Regions from separate parts of the Homo sapiens genome. Here region 2 is linked to region 1. Evidence: promoter capture Hi-C in 16 types of primary human blood cells and fetal thymus (Javierre and others, 2016). All regions are on one chromosome and are shown on one strand. The core of a region is centred on a gene start or on the middle of the fragment in contact, and the rest is flanking DNA. Distances in the headings are between cores, read along the strand shown.

Region 1 (6,602 bases), core at 1,566-4,065:
TGTACAGATTTTTGTAAATATGACTCTTTTGTAATTAACTCATGTACAGCCTCATCCTGTATAGTTTAATGATGAATGTGCAGGGGACCTGTCTCAGGCTCCTATATGGTTCCTGGGCCTTATAGCCAGGTTTGTGTGGCGCTCCCGACTTTTGTGACTGACTGGTGTCTTCCCATTTGGACTGTGGCCTGGCCAGAGCCCCTTGCATATCCCCACTGTCAGGGGCAGCCAGGACTGTTCCCATCCTCCTGGAATGGGGGAACCTTCCTTATCCCCTGCCCACATCCCCTCTCCAATAAAGCACCTGTGCCCTCAGCAATGGCCTGCCATGTGCTGTTGCTGGGATGTTTGTATTAAGGTAAGTGTGGGTATTGGTTTTTTGAGCAAGGGGGTGGTTGAAGCATATGGGGAAATTAATAGTGGTGGCATCTCAGGGGAAGACATTCCTTGGCTCCTCTGAGGGGATACAGCCTCCAGTGGGAGACTGGCATTGTTGTGTGAGTTCAGGAGGTGAGGAAAGACTAGGTAGGACCGTGCACTCATTTGTCCCTTATGTGTGGCTCCATCCCTGGTGCTCAGCCACACCTGGGCCCAGGAGAGGTTGTGGGAAGCATAATATCTGTTTTCAGATGAGCTATGGCAAAGTGCCTGCCAGGTTCATGAATTCAGGCTGTGGCGGCCGGAGCCCCTCCACCTCCCTGTGGGGCCTGGCCTTGAGAGCCTCTGCATACGTCCGCGTCAGCCTAGGGGGTTCCAAATCCAGCAGAGTGGTAGGATTCCCTAAGTCCCTGCCACCACACCAGAACACACCTCTGTGCTACTAGGAGGACCAGACATATCCACTGCTCTGGGACCTGTTGGACAAGAGATGGTCATCTACCACCCAGCCTTGGCTCGCTCAAAGGGTCACCATTACACGGGTTTCAACTGGTTCCAGCAGGGTGGACCGCCAGGAGCCAAGCTTAACCCCCATCCCCTGGGATCCTGTGGAGACAGGCACCTGGTGATCAGGGAAGAACCACATACACGGCAATAATCTGGGAAACCGGCTCCATTCTGGGTCTGAGTTAGGAGCTTGGGGCTGTAGTGGGGAGCTAGGAGTCCCATTGGAAGGGGCCTGCAGCGACAGGCTGTGGATGCGCACAGGCTGGCCCATGCGGCCCGTGCAGCAGGCGCCACATAAGCCAGATGTCAGCGGCCGAGAGCCCGTGCACTACAACCAGCTCACGGTAAAAGCAGGGGTCGAAGGTGCTCAAATGCGGCGCGGCTGAAGGCTGGGGGATGCCAAAGGTGCGGAAGGCAGGGTGAGGCTCGGGCGTGAGCCGCAGGCGCTGCAGACACATGCCCAGAAAGACGTCGTCGATGGGGAAGAGCTCGACCTGCGCACAGGCGCCAGCCAGGCGGTGCAGCGTGGCCCCGGAAAGCACAAAGCCACCGCCGCCCGCGTAGGCCGGATAGGCGGGCAGGCCGTACACGGCCTCGGGGATGTAGTACTTGCTAGCCCGCGTGCGGATGGGCCGCGCATGCACAATTACGTCACCAGCAAGCAGGTCTTGCGCCGGGTCCCGCGGCGCCAGGAACTCCAGGAGATTTCCCACGTTCACGAACACATCTGCGTCGCCCTTAAAAACGAAGCGCACGTCGGGGCAGAAAGCTGAGGCCCAGGCTAGAAAGTGGATCTCCTTGAGCGTTAGGTTAAAAAAGGTGTCGTCGAAGGCCCAGAGCAGGATGTCCGCATACGCAAGGCTCTCGGCCCGCAGCAGGGCGCGCCAGTGGGTTCGCGCGCCCTCCCCAACTTCGTCGGCCCCGCCCGAGCCTGCGCCCCTGGGCACGCCCAGCAAGAACACGCGGCGCACCAGCGCCCCCTGCACGCGACCCTCCGCGCCCCACGTCTGGCGCACGGCTTGGCGCCGCTCGAAGTCCTCTGCCACCGACTTGACAGCAATAAGCAGGTCCGGGCGGCCACCGGGTGCGCCGTCGCCGCGGCACTTGTGCGGCTGGTTAATGAGCAGTGGAAACCGCCGCTGGTCCTTGGCGCGCAAATAGCGGGCGAAGTCAAAGGGTCCCGTAGGCGTGGGCGGCGCCGGTGTGTCCCCTTCGTAGGCCGGCGGGGCTGCACCCGCGTCGGGTAACTGGAACGCGCGGGGTCCGGGGGTGGGCCTCGGTGCCGCCCTCCCTCGCCCTCGCGGCGCGCTCGCCGTCGGGGCCGCGCCGTCGCGCTGCGCATAGAGTAAGAGGCCCAGGGAGGCGCCAAGGAGCAGCGTGAGCAATGCGTCCCTGCGTAGGCGCAGCCTCCTCCTCATCTCCGCGCGGCCTGCGCCCTCCCTCCCCTGTAAGGGTCGCAGTCGGCAGCAGGGGGCAGCGAGCCCCGCCCTCCCCAGCTGAGGGGGCGGGAGGCCACGCCCCGGGGGGGGCTCCAGCGACCGACGGTTGAGCCCCTTGCGTTGTTCTCCTCCTCCCGGCCGTGTCGCACCGCCGGGACCGGCAGCCTGAAGGGACAAGAAGTTCACCCATGTAGCCAACTCCCCCGCGGCCTCAGCTCCGGCCCAGGACTGCGACCCAGGGCCGGGCAGGGAGACTGGGAGCCTCGGCCCCTCCCCCGCCCGCCTCCCTCGCGCTGAGGCCGAATCCCTTCCACCCTGCCATCCCCTCAATGTCGGGCCCTGGGGTCCCGACACTCACGCTCGGCCCTCGGAAGTGGCGCAGCCCCGGACGCCCTGGCCTCCGGGGCTCAGCGCAGGGTCCGAGGGGCCGCCATGGACCGGGCCCGAGCCAAATGCAGCGTTGGCAGGAAGGGGGACCGGTGCCGTGCCACGTGACCCTCCAGCTGTGCGCGCCCAGACTTCTGGAGCTCAGCTCCGCCCCGGCGCCAGGAGCACTCCGGCCTCAGAGTGGGGACTAATCCCTGAGAGGGAGCCTCCTCACTCTCAGTCCCTCTGGGAAGGGCTGGTCTGGGTGCTCACACCCCAAATTCGCCTTTCTGGGGATTGGGAAGAAGCATCAACTCCCCTGGTTAGCTCCCCCAACTATCCACTCCCCACTCCCGCGTCTCTGGAGTGGGGCGGAGCCTGGGCTGCTAGGAGCCCCTGAGCAGGCCGGTTCCAAATGCGCATGAACCTGGCCACCATCCCGGGCGGGCCTCTCCTCAGCAGCCCTGATTCCATCAGGCAGGGTGCATACGCTGCCCCCGAGACACATGGCTGTCTTCTTACTCCTGGTTCTGCCATGCTCCCCACCCCCAGTAAACACACGCACGGGACAAACAAGGCAGCCCACCCAATCCTCAGGGCAACTCTGCCAGCAGCTCTCATTCATGCCCAGATGGGGACACTGGGGGGCTCTTCGGGGAGTTAAGTGACTTGCCCAGGATCCAAAGGCCAGAAAGCTCTGCCCCCAGGTCTTCTGAAATTCAGGCCAGGATTATTTTATCTGTCCTTGCCCCGCTCATTCATCCACTGGGATACAGAACAGGGGGCCAACCCAGTCTGCTTTAATTTCACAGGCAAGCACTTCAGCCTGTCTCCCCGGGGGCTAATGGACCTGAGCCCAAGCCAGGTGCAGTTCTGAGTCCCCTGGTCCCCAGCATAGCCTACTGCAGGTAGAAATGATCAGGCCTGTGCAGCTGCAGGTCAGACAGGGCTGGCAAGGATGGGGACAGCTTGGGAAGACTCCTGGCGGAGGCCTTGGCTAAAGGATTGCTCTGGGATGCAGGTGGACAGAGGTGCTCTGCAATGGAGAGCTAAGTCCTTGCGCAGCTCAGCTGCCAGCTCTCTCTTTCTTGGTCCCAGCCCATGTGGTGGAGCCTGGAATAGACAGCCTCTACTGGTCTCTTAAGAACCCAGCCCCATCCTCTGTCCAAGGGCTATATCTGCTCCTGACGGCTTCTTCCCACCAATGTTCAATCTTAAAAAGCCACCTCTCTGGCTGGGTGTGGTGGCTTATGCCTGTAACCTCAACACTTTGGGAGGCTGAGGTGAGTGGATCACTTGAGGTCAGGAAGTCAAGACCAGCCTGGCCAACGTGGTGAAACCCCCATCTCTACTAAAAATACAAAAATTAGCTAGACATGGTGGTGGGCACCTGTAATCCCAGCTACTTAGAGGGCTGAGGCAGGAGAATTGCTTGAACCTGGAAGGTGGAGGTTGCAGTGAGCCAAGAACACACCACTGCACTCCATCCTGGGCAACAGAGCGAGACTGTCTCAAAAAAAAAAAAAGGCCAGTCGTGGTGGCTTACTCCTGTAATCCCAACACTTTGGGAGGCCAAGGCAGGTGGATCACTTGAGGCCAGGAGTTTGAGACCAGCCTGGCCAACATGGAGAAACCCTGTCTCTATTAAAAATACAAAAATTAGCCAGGTATGGTGGCACGTGCCTGTAATCCCAGGTACTTGGGAGGCTGAGGCAGGAAAATCACTTGAACCCGGGAGACGAAGGCTGCAATGAGCCGAGATCGTGCCACTGCACTCCAACCTGGCAACAGAGTGAGACTCTCTCCAAAAAAAAAAAAAAAAAAAAAAGCCAAATCTCCACCCTGAGCCTTACTCTTTTTGGTCACAAAGTAATCAGGAGTCCTCTGCTCCAGCTTTCTCCGCGGCCTCACCTTCCATTCCCTCCTGTGATAAAGCTTCGGGCTGCCTCCACCATGACTCAGAAAGACCCCTGACTGGTAAGCTCCTTTTAACTGAGTCCAACAGACACTCCTCGGTCTTGACTACCCGCTCCATTATAGTGGGTGGGTAATCCCCTGGTTTCCAAATCTCCTGGTTTTCCTCCTTCCTCTTTGGCTGTTCCCATTCTGGTTGGTGTCCTTCAGGACATCCCCTGGGGCCACCCCACCCACTCCCCACCTGTCTATTCATCAATCTTTAGATTGAACCCTCATCCTGAACTCAGAACTACAGACCCAACTACCCTCATACTCTCTCCCCGGATGCACTGCAGGAACATCATGCTCAACTTGTCCCAAACAGAGCAAGCATTTCATTTCCCCCCAGGGCCCCATCCCAGCAAGCAGTCCCACCCACCATCCAACTGGCAAAGGCAGAAACTTGGGGCCCTCTCTCAGCCATTCCTCACCCAGTGTCACCAGGCCTGTTACTCTTCCACCCACACAGCTCTTTGGTGGTCATCCCCTTCCCTCCATCTCTGCTGCTACTGCCCCAGCCTGGGGCCACCATTTCCCCCACCCCCATCCTCATCAACCTCCCAGTCTTGGCCAGGTGCGGTGGCACATGCCTGTAATCCCAGCACTTTGGGAGACCAAGGTGGGTGGATCACCTGAGGTCAGGAGTTTGAGACCAGCCTGACCAACATGGAGAAACCCCATCTCTACTAAAAATACAAAATTAGCTGGGCATGGTGGTGGGCGCCTGTAATCCCAGCTACTTGGGAGGCTGAAACAGGAGAATTGCTTGAACCCAGGAGGTGGAGGTTGCAGTGAGCCAAAAACGTGCCATTACACTACAGCCTGGGAAATAAGAGTGAAGCTCCATCTGAAAAAAAATTAAAATTAAAAAAAAAAAAAAAACAACCACCTCCCAGTCTTAACTCCCGAAACTCTTCAAAGGCTTCCTACTGGCCTCATTGAAAAACCCACAAGCCTTCCTCAAGCCCTTGCCTGAGACTGTGCCCCGAACACTGCCCTTCTCTCGATAGCCCACCCCTATGCCTACTCACACTCATCTCCTCCAGGAAGCCTACCCCCTGTCCCCTGCCCAGGTTAGGCCCCTTCCTCCATCCTCCACAACTTCTCTTTTTTTTTCTTTCTTTTTTTTTTTTTTTTTTTGAGACAGGGTCTCACTCTGTCACCCAGGCTGGAGTGCAGTAGCTCAGTGACATCTCACTGCAGCCTCAACCTTCCATGCTCCAGGGATCCTCCCACCTCAGCCTCCTAAGTGGCTGGGACTACCCAGGCTGGTCTCAAACTCCTGAGCTCAAGCAATCCTCCTATCTCTGTCTCCCAAATTGTTGGGATTACAGGTGTAAGCCACTACTACTTGTATTTCTCACATCAAAATCCGTGTTATACTTTATTATCATTGCTTAACATTCGGGGTCCCACGCTGAGTGTGAGCTGGGGGCAGGCAAGATTGATTCCTGTTTTACTTCACTGCAGTATCTGCAGCACCCAGGATGAAGTCCAGGACACCAAAGATCAAGGTGCTTCATGAGTGAAACTGTAAGGGCTGGCTGTAAGCCCCGCTTCTGGGATGGGAGAAGGTGAGGCTGATCTCCAAAGCAGGTCCCCCCCACCCCACACTCTATCAAAGTACCTGAGGCAGAATCCCCAATGATGCACCCCCAGTGGTCTGGCTCCTGGGGAAGGCAATCAACTCTGCCCCAGCAGGTCCAGCAGATAGGCCAAGTGGAGTTTCAGGGTCCCGTGGATGGACAGGGGTTCAGCAATAGCCGCAGAAGGAACCCTAAGGCCATCCAGGTTCTCCAAAAGCTGGCTGCACCCCTGGTCTAGGCCAGGCCGCCATTGGGATCGGTCAGGCCCAGCAAGTCCTCTGCCAGGCTGGTGAGCTCGTTCTCCTCGAGTGCCTCCACCAGGCGCTGCAGCGTGGCGCGGCGGCCCTCGGCCTGCACGAAGCGCCGCAGC
Region 2 (6,602 bases), core at 2,584-5,083, 79 kb before region 1:
CAGAGTGAGATCCTTTCTCTAAAAAGAAAAAAAGAGAAAAACTGAGCAGTGACATCAGAGGCTGTGCACTGCTGTGGAAAACAGACTCCTCAGAATTAGTCCAGGCGAGTCACTAAACAAACAAACATCAACAACAAGCTGAAAGCAAGGATCAGAAGTCAGAGTTGCTACAGTATATTATCTAAACTGTCTGGTTTTCAGCAAAAAGTTATGAGATATGCAACTATGAAAATGCAACTTATACAAAGGTGAAAAAGCAAGCAATATAAACTGTCTTTGAGGGGGCCCAAGTGTTGGTTCTTAGTGAGAAAGACTTCAAAGTAGTTGTTATAAATATACTGAAAGAACTAAAGGAAAATTCTTTCCTTTTAATGTTAAAGGAAATTATGATGGCAGTGACTAATTAAGTAGAGTATATCAATAAAGGGATCTAAATTATTAAAAGAATCAAATAGAAATTCTGGAGTTGAGGCTGGCCGTGGTTGGCTCATGCCTATAATCCCAGCACTTTGAGAGGCCAAGGCGGGCGGATCACCTGAGGTCAGGAATTCAAGACCAGCCTGGCTAACATGGTGAAACCCCATCTCTACTAAAAATACAAAATCAGCCAGGCATGGTGGCGCATGCCTGTAATCCCACCTACTCAGGAGGCTGAGGCTCAAGAATCACTTGAACCCGGGAGGTGGAGATTGCAGTGAGCTGAGATTGCACCATTGCACTCCAGCCTGGGCAACAAGAGCGAAACTCCATCTCAAAAAAAACGCCGAGTGTTGTGGCATATGCCTGCCATCCCAGCTTCTCAGGAGGCTGAGTTAGGAGAATAGCTTGGACCCAGGAGGCAGAGGTTGCAGCAAGCCAAGATCGCATCACTGCACTCCAGCCTGGGCGACAGAGCAAGACTTCATCTCAAAAAAAAAAAAAGAAATTCTGGAGTTGGAAAGTACAGTAGTAACAAAAAGTTCACAGACTAAATGGTAGATAAGAGCTGACATATGAACAAGAAAAATTAACAGTCTTGGGGACCTGTGGGACACCAGCACACGTATTAACATAAATGTAATGAAAGTTTCAGGAAAGGAAAGAAAGAGGTTGAAGATACATTTTAAGAAGTAGTAGCCAAAAACTCTCACGTTTGATGAAAAATATTAATCCACATTGTCCAAGAAGCTCAATGGACACTAAGTAGGATAAACACAAAGAAATCCATACCTAGTCACATTATAAACTGTTGAGAGACAAGGAATCATGAAAGCAGCAAGAAAGGATTCCTCACACGCGAAGGAACCACGGTAAGATTAACAGCTGACTTCTCTTGAAATCATAGAGGCTAGAAAGTTGTGGGATGACATATTAAAAGCACCAAAAGAAAATGTAAAAGCAGATTGGGTGCAGTGGCTCACACCTGTAATCCCAGCACTTTGGGAGACCGAAGTGGGAGGATCACTTGAGCCCAGGAGTTTGAGGCTGCAGTGAGCTGTGATCGCACCACTGCACTCAAGCCTAAGTGACAGAGTGAGTCCCTGTCTCTTTAAAAACAAAGAAAATGTAAAAGCACCTGATTATTAGCAGGTATTAATGTCTTTTAATTGTTTGCTTGATATTAACCTTAATAAAGTTAAAATAATAACAGGAACATAAAGAAACTCTTTGTTTCTTTGTTGTATCTTCCCATATAGTTCTTTATATATGGAAATGTAAGAATTTTCTTTAAAGGAGATCAAAAAATTAAAACTTTCTAGTGAAAAGCTTAGGATTCAAAGTTAAAAGTCTTAAGAAAGAATTCTTGGTCTGGCCCAGGCCATCCCAGTGGCACATGCCTGTAGTCCTAGCTACTTGGGAGGCTGAAGCAGGAGGATCCCTTGATCCCAGGAGTTCCAGCCCAGCCTAGGCAACATAATGAGACCTTCATCTCTAAACATAAAAATAAAGAAAGAATCCATGCACTACCCTGATTTCCACAATGCTAATGAATTTCCAATTCTTTCAGAAAAATAATAAATAACCAGCAATCTAAAAGTCTATTTTCTGTTAAGAAGTGATAAAGCAGACTTTATTTATATAAGGAAAATTCAGATTGGATTGACTTTTAAAAAACTAAAGTATTTTGACAGGGTGCAGTGGCTCACGCTTGTAATTCCAGCACTTGGAAAGGCAGAGATGGGAGTATTGCTTGGTCCCAGGAGTTTGAGACCAACCTGGGCAATGTGGCAAAACCCTGTCTCTACCAAAAAAAAAAAAAATTAGCCAGCTGTGGTGGTGTGCACCTGTAGACCCAGCTACTCAGGAAGCTGAGGTGGGATGATTGCTTGAACCCAGGAGGCTGAGATTGCAATGAGCCGAGATCACACCACTGCACTCCAGCCTGGGTGACAGAGCAAGACAAGACCCTGTCTCAAAAACAAACAACAAAAACTAAAGTATTTTATTAAGATAATAGGTTAAAATTTTTAACATTTTTTATACTTGGAGTTTTCCAAGCCTTATTTCCATAGTCCCCAAATTGAACTATATCACTACAAATTAAGTGCCATCTGTTGTGATAGTTTACTACTATCACAATGGAGTTACATAACTCTTACCGATAATAGGAGTTATACAGTGTATAGTAAAAAAAATTCAGAGCAGGTGACTCCAACTATTTAGGCAGCAATCAGTACTTCCCTGTAGCTCCCCTTGTCCCCATCTGCAAGATAATATAAGTAAAGAAGCAATGAAATGTAGATGCTAGGGGCAGGAGTTCATAGTCGTATAATGTGAATCCTGGCCCCACTACTTACCAGCTCTCATGAACTGAATGTTTGTTTACCCCATCCCCAAATTGATATGTTGAAGCCCTACTCCCGTTGTTACTGTACTTGAAGATAGGGCATTTATGGAGGTAATTAAGGTTAGATAAAGGCGTAAGAGTGGGGCTCTGATCCAGTAGGGTTAGTGTCCTTAAGAGACAGGAGAGAGCTCTCTGTCTCTCTCTCTGCCGTATGAGGACACAGTGAGAAGATGGATGTCTGCATGCCAGAAAGAGGTTCCTCACGGGGAACCAAATTGGCTGGCACATTGATCTGGGATTGCTAGTCTCCAGAAATGTGAGAAAATAAATTTCTGTTGTTTAAGCCACTCCATTTATGGTATTTTAGTATGGCATCCTCAGATGACTAAAACACTAGCTGTGTGATGCTGGCAAGTTATTAAATCTCTCCAGGCCTCAGATTTCTCCTTCCTAAGATGGGATAATGCTGCCCACAAGATTGTGGGCAGTTGAATGGGATAGCATATGTAAAGGGCTGTGCCTAGCACAGTATCTAGCGTGCAGTACAGTTCCTAAACAAAGACTCTTGTTTGTTACTGCTTGTACTTTAGCATTTTATACTTAGGGTTTCCACTCTTCTCCAGATGTCTGTCTTGTGAAGTAGTGTGTAAAATCACAAAGCATGGATTTCAGCCCTCTTTCACTGGGCTGGAATAGGCCCCATCTCTAGCGAGTGAGCCGGTGGCAGCCTCACTTCCATGGCCCAACACAGCTTTGTTTCTCTCTGCTGATCACACAGGCAGAAATAACTCTTCTGAATTAACCAAAAAACAGTTTTTTGAAAAGTTAAAGTTCATGGTTAATGTTATATCATTCATAATGTAATATAATTTGATATAGGATGAGAGTGACCATATTACTTATTGTAACTGTATTATTCCTAAAAGTATAAGGTCATGTTTAACTGAAATTATATAATATTTTGACCCACAAATTGATTTTATTATATTGCTAGCCCTAGAAAAATTGTTTCATTCAAAAAACATTTTTAAAAATACGTTTTTAAATAAAACAACATGTGCACATTACAGCAAAATAAAAGTTATATCTTTATGCTAATCTTCTGAACATTAAGATTAATAAGCAGAATACTTAGTCTTGATATTTATTCATGCACTTTATTAGTCTCTTATTTATATCTGTATCTAATATTTTTCTGAAGAATATATAGATTTTTCAATATGGTCTTGTTTTTCTTTTTTTTTCTTTTTTTTTTCCAGACAGAGTCTTGCTCTCTCACCCCGGCTGGAGTGCAATGGCACAATCTGGGCTCACCTCAACCTCCGCCTCCTGGGTTCAAGCGATTCTCCTGCCTCAGCCTCCTGAGTAGCTGGGGTTACAGGCATGTGCCACCATGCCCGGCTAATTTTGTATTTTTAGTAGAGACGGGGTTTCTCCATGTTGGTCAGGCTGGTCTTCAACTCCTGACCTCAGGTGATCTGCCCGCCTCAGCCTCCCAAAGTGCTGGGATTACAGGCGTGAGCCACCATGCCCGGCCTCTTTTTTCTTTTTTTTTTTTTAGCGACAGAGTCTTGCTCTGTTGCTCAGGCCAGAGTGCAGTGGTACAATGACAGCTCACTACAGCCTCAAGCTCCTGCCGTGCTTGGCTAATTTTTTTTATCTTTTGTAGAGATGAGGTCTTACCATGTTGGCCAGGCTGGTCTTGAATTGCTGGCTTCAAACGATCCTCCTGCCACAGCCTCCCAAAGCACTAGGATTATAGGCATGAGCCACTGCATCTAGCCCCTTACTTTTATTTTCTTCATAAAAGTGCCCACAATATGCTTCAGAGTTGCATATTATAATTAGTAAATTTGGAACAGCTGACATCTTCAATTGAGTGTCTGTAAACTACGTAAAAAATTGACAAAATACTCTAACAAATGCTGAAGTATCTGGTAAACTAAGAGCTAAATGGAAGAGAGTCAATTCCATTTTTGAAAGATTAAATTGTATAACTATTTCAGCTGAAATATTTTCACAGGTATTGTCTCTGCTTTTGTCCAGAGTGCCTTTCTTTGACAAGTTTGGTATAAGACAATACCTGTCAAAGCTGTCTCTATTTATGATTCTGTCTCTATTTATGATTCTTCTGAAAATTTTGCCAAGTTCAGTTACTTCAGAATCAAATCATTTCCAGTTAAAAATGGAATTCCATCCAAGATTCTTTTCCCAAAAAGAAACAGAAGACATGTGACCAGATGCAGTGGCTCATACTTGTAATCCCTGCACTCTTGAGAGGCCGAGACAGGTGGATCACTTGAGGTCAGGAGTTCGAGACCAGCCTGGCCAACATGGTGAAACTCCGTCTCTACTGAAAATTCAAAAATTAGCCATGGTGGTGCGTGCCTGTGGTTCTAGCTACTCAGGAGGCTGAGGCAGGAGAATTACTTAAACCCAGGAGGTGGAGGTTGCGGTGAGCCGAGATCGTGCCATTGCACTCCAGCCTGGGCAGCAGAGTGAGACTCCATCTCAAAAAAACACGAGGCCGGGCGCAGTGGCTTATGCCTGTAATCCCAGAACTTTGGAAAGCTGAGGCGGGCAAATCACCTGAGGTAAGGAGTTCGAGACCAGCCTGGCCAACATGGTGAAACCCGTCTCAACCAAAACTACAAAAATTAGCCGGGCATGGTGGAGGGCACCTGTAGTTACTTGGGAAGCTGAGGCAGGAGAATGGCATGAACCCAGGAGGCGGAGCTTGCAGTGAGCCAAGATGGTGCCACTGCACTCCAAGCCTGGGCAACAGAGCAAGACTCCATCTCAAAAAAAACAAAAAACAAAAAACACCAAGCTGTTATTTGCAGAAGATGCATGTACTTAGAAAATCTAAGATAATTTACACACTATTAAGAAAACTAACACATGAATTTCACAGGGCATTAGATGTAATACAAGGTCAGTACACCATCAGTTACATTTCTATATACCAGCAATAAACAAAGACAAAGGTGACACTGCAGTGCAGACAAGGGTGGGGGGCAGGGGGTAGGTCTCTTCAGTAAATGATGCTGGGACAATAAAACATTTCTGTGAGGGGAAAATATATCAGAGCCCCTTATACCATTCACAAAAATCAATTTCAGATGGATAGCAGTTTATAAAATGTAAAACAGTAAAGCTTTTTTTTTTTTTTTGAGACAGAGTCTAGCTCTGTCACCAGGCTGGAGTGCAGTGGCGTGATCTCAGCTCACTGTAACCTCTGCCTCCCGGGTTCAAGTGATTCTCCTGCCTCAGCCTCCCAAGTAGCTGGGACTACAGGCACGTGCCATCATACCCTGCTAATTTTTGTATTTTTAGTAGAGACGAGGTTTCACCATGTTGGCCACGCTGGTCTCGATCTCTTGACCTCATGATCCACCCGCTTCGGCCTCCCAAAGTGCTGGGATTACAGGCATGAGCCACTGTGCCCGGCCGAAACAGTAAAGCTTTTTAAAGGAAAATGAGAAGATCATTTTGTGACCTTGGAGTAGGCAAAAACTTGAACAGGACACAAAAGATGCTAAACTGTAAGTAAATGGATAAATAACGAATTATGGTAAAACCAAGAACTGTTTATCAAAAGACAGTATTAAGAGAATGTAAAGGCAACCTGAACAGTGGTGGAAAATGTTTTCTGGCAAAGGACTTACATAAAATATGTAGAGGCCAGGCGCAGTGGCTCATGCTTGTAATCCCAACACTTTGGGTGGCCAAGGTGGGCAGATCACTTGAGGCCAGGAGTTGGAGACCAGCCTGGTATGGCAAAACCCCATCTCTACTAAAAAATACAAAAATTAGCCAGGTATGGTGGCACACA

The links. The method cuts DNA at HindIII sites, captures the fragments that hold promoters and counts their contacts. A CHiCAGO score of 5 or more calls a contact.
Region 2: a contact is called between a fragment that was not itself captured here and the fragment with the promoter of B3GNT9 in region 1, in 1 of 17 cell types (activated CD4 T cells). The highest score is 5.1, in activated CD4 T cells.

Annotation. Positions count from the first base shown.
Region 1 is chr16:67,148,183-67,154,784 of GRCh38, forward strand. It overlaps B3GNT9 (UDP-GlcNAc:betaGal beta-1,3-N-acetylglucosaminyltransferase 9), which reads right to left and starts at 2,816. Exons shown (of 2, transcript NM_033309.3): 1 at 2,683-2,816; 2 at 1-2,489. The coding sequence starts at 2,303. The coding sequence ends at 1,095. It overlaps PHAF1 (phagophore assembly factor 1), which reads left to right. Exons shown (of 16, transcript NM_025187.5): 16 at 1-362. TRADD (TNFRSF1A associated via death domain) reads right to left here. Exons shown (of 5, transcript NM_003789.4): 5 at 6,003-6,602. The coding sequence ends at 6,467. RefSeq lists silencers at 2,172-2,601, 2,612-2,771. The HindIII fragment of the contact is 3,664 bases long and covers 960-4,623 here.
Region 2 is chr16:67,068,462-67,075,063 of GRCh38, forward strand. All of the region lies in intron 4 of CBFB (core-binding factor subunit beta), which reads left to right. Among named protein-coding and RNA genes, the nearest start is that of PHAF1, 38 kb to the right of the region's middle. The HindIII fragment of the contact is 4,178 bases long and covers 1,745-5,922 here.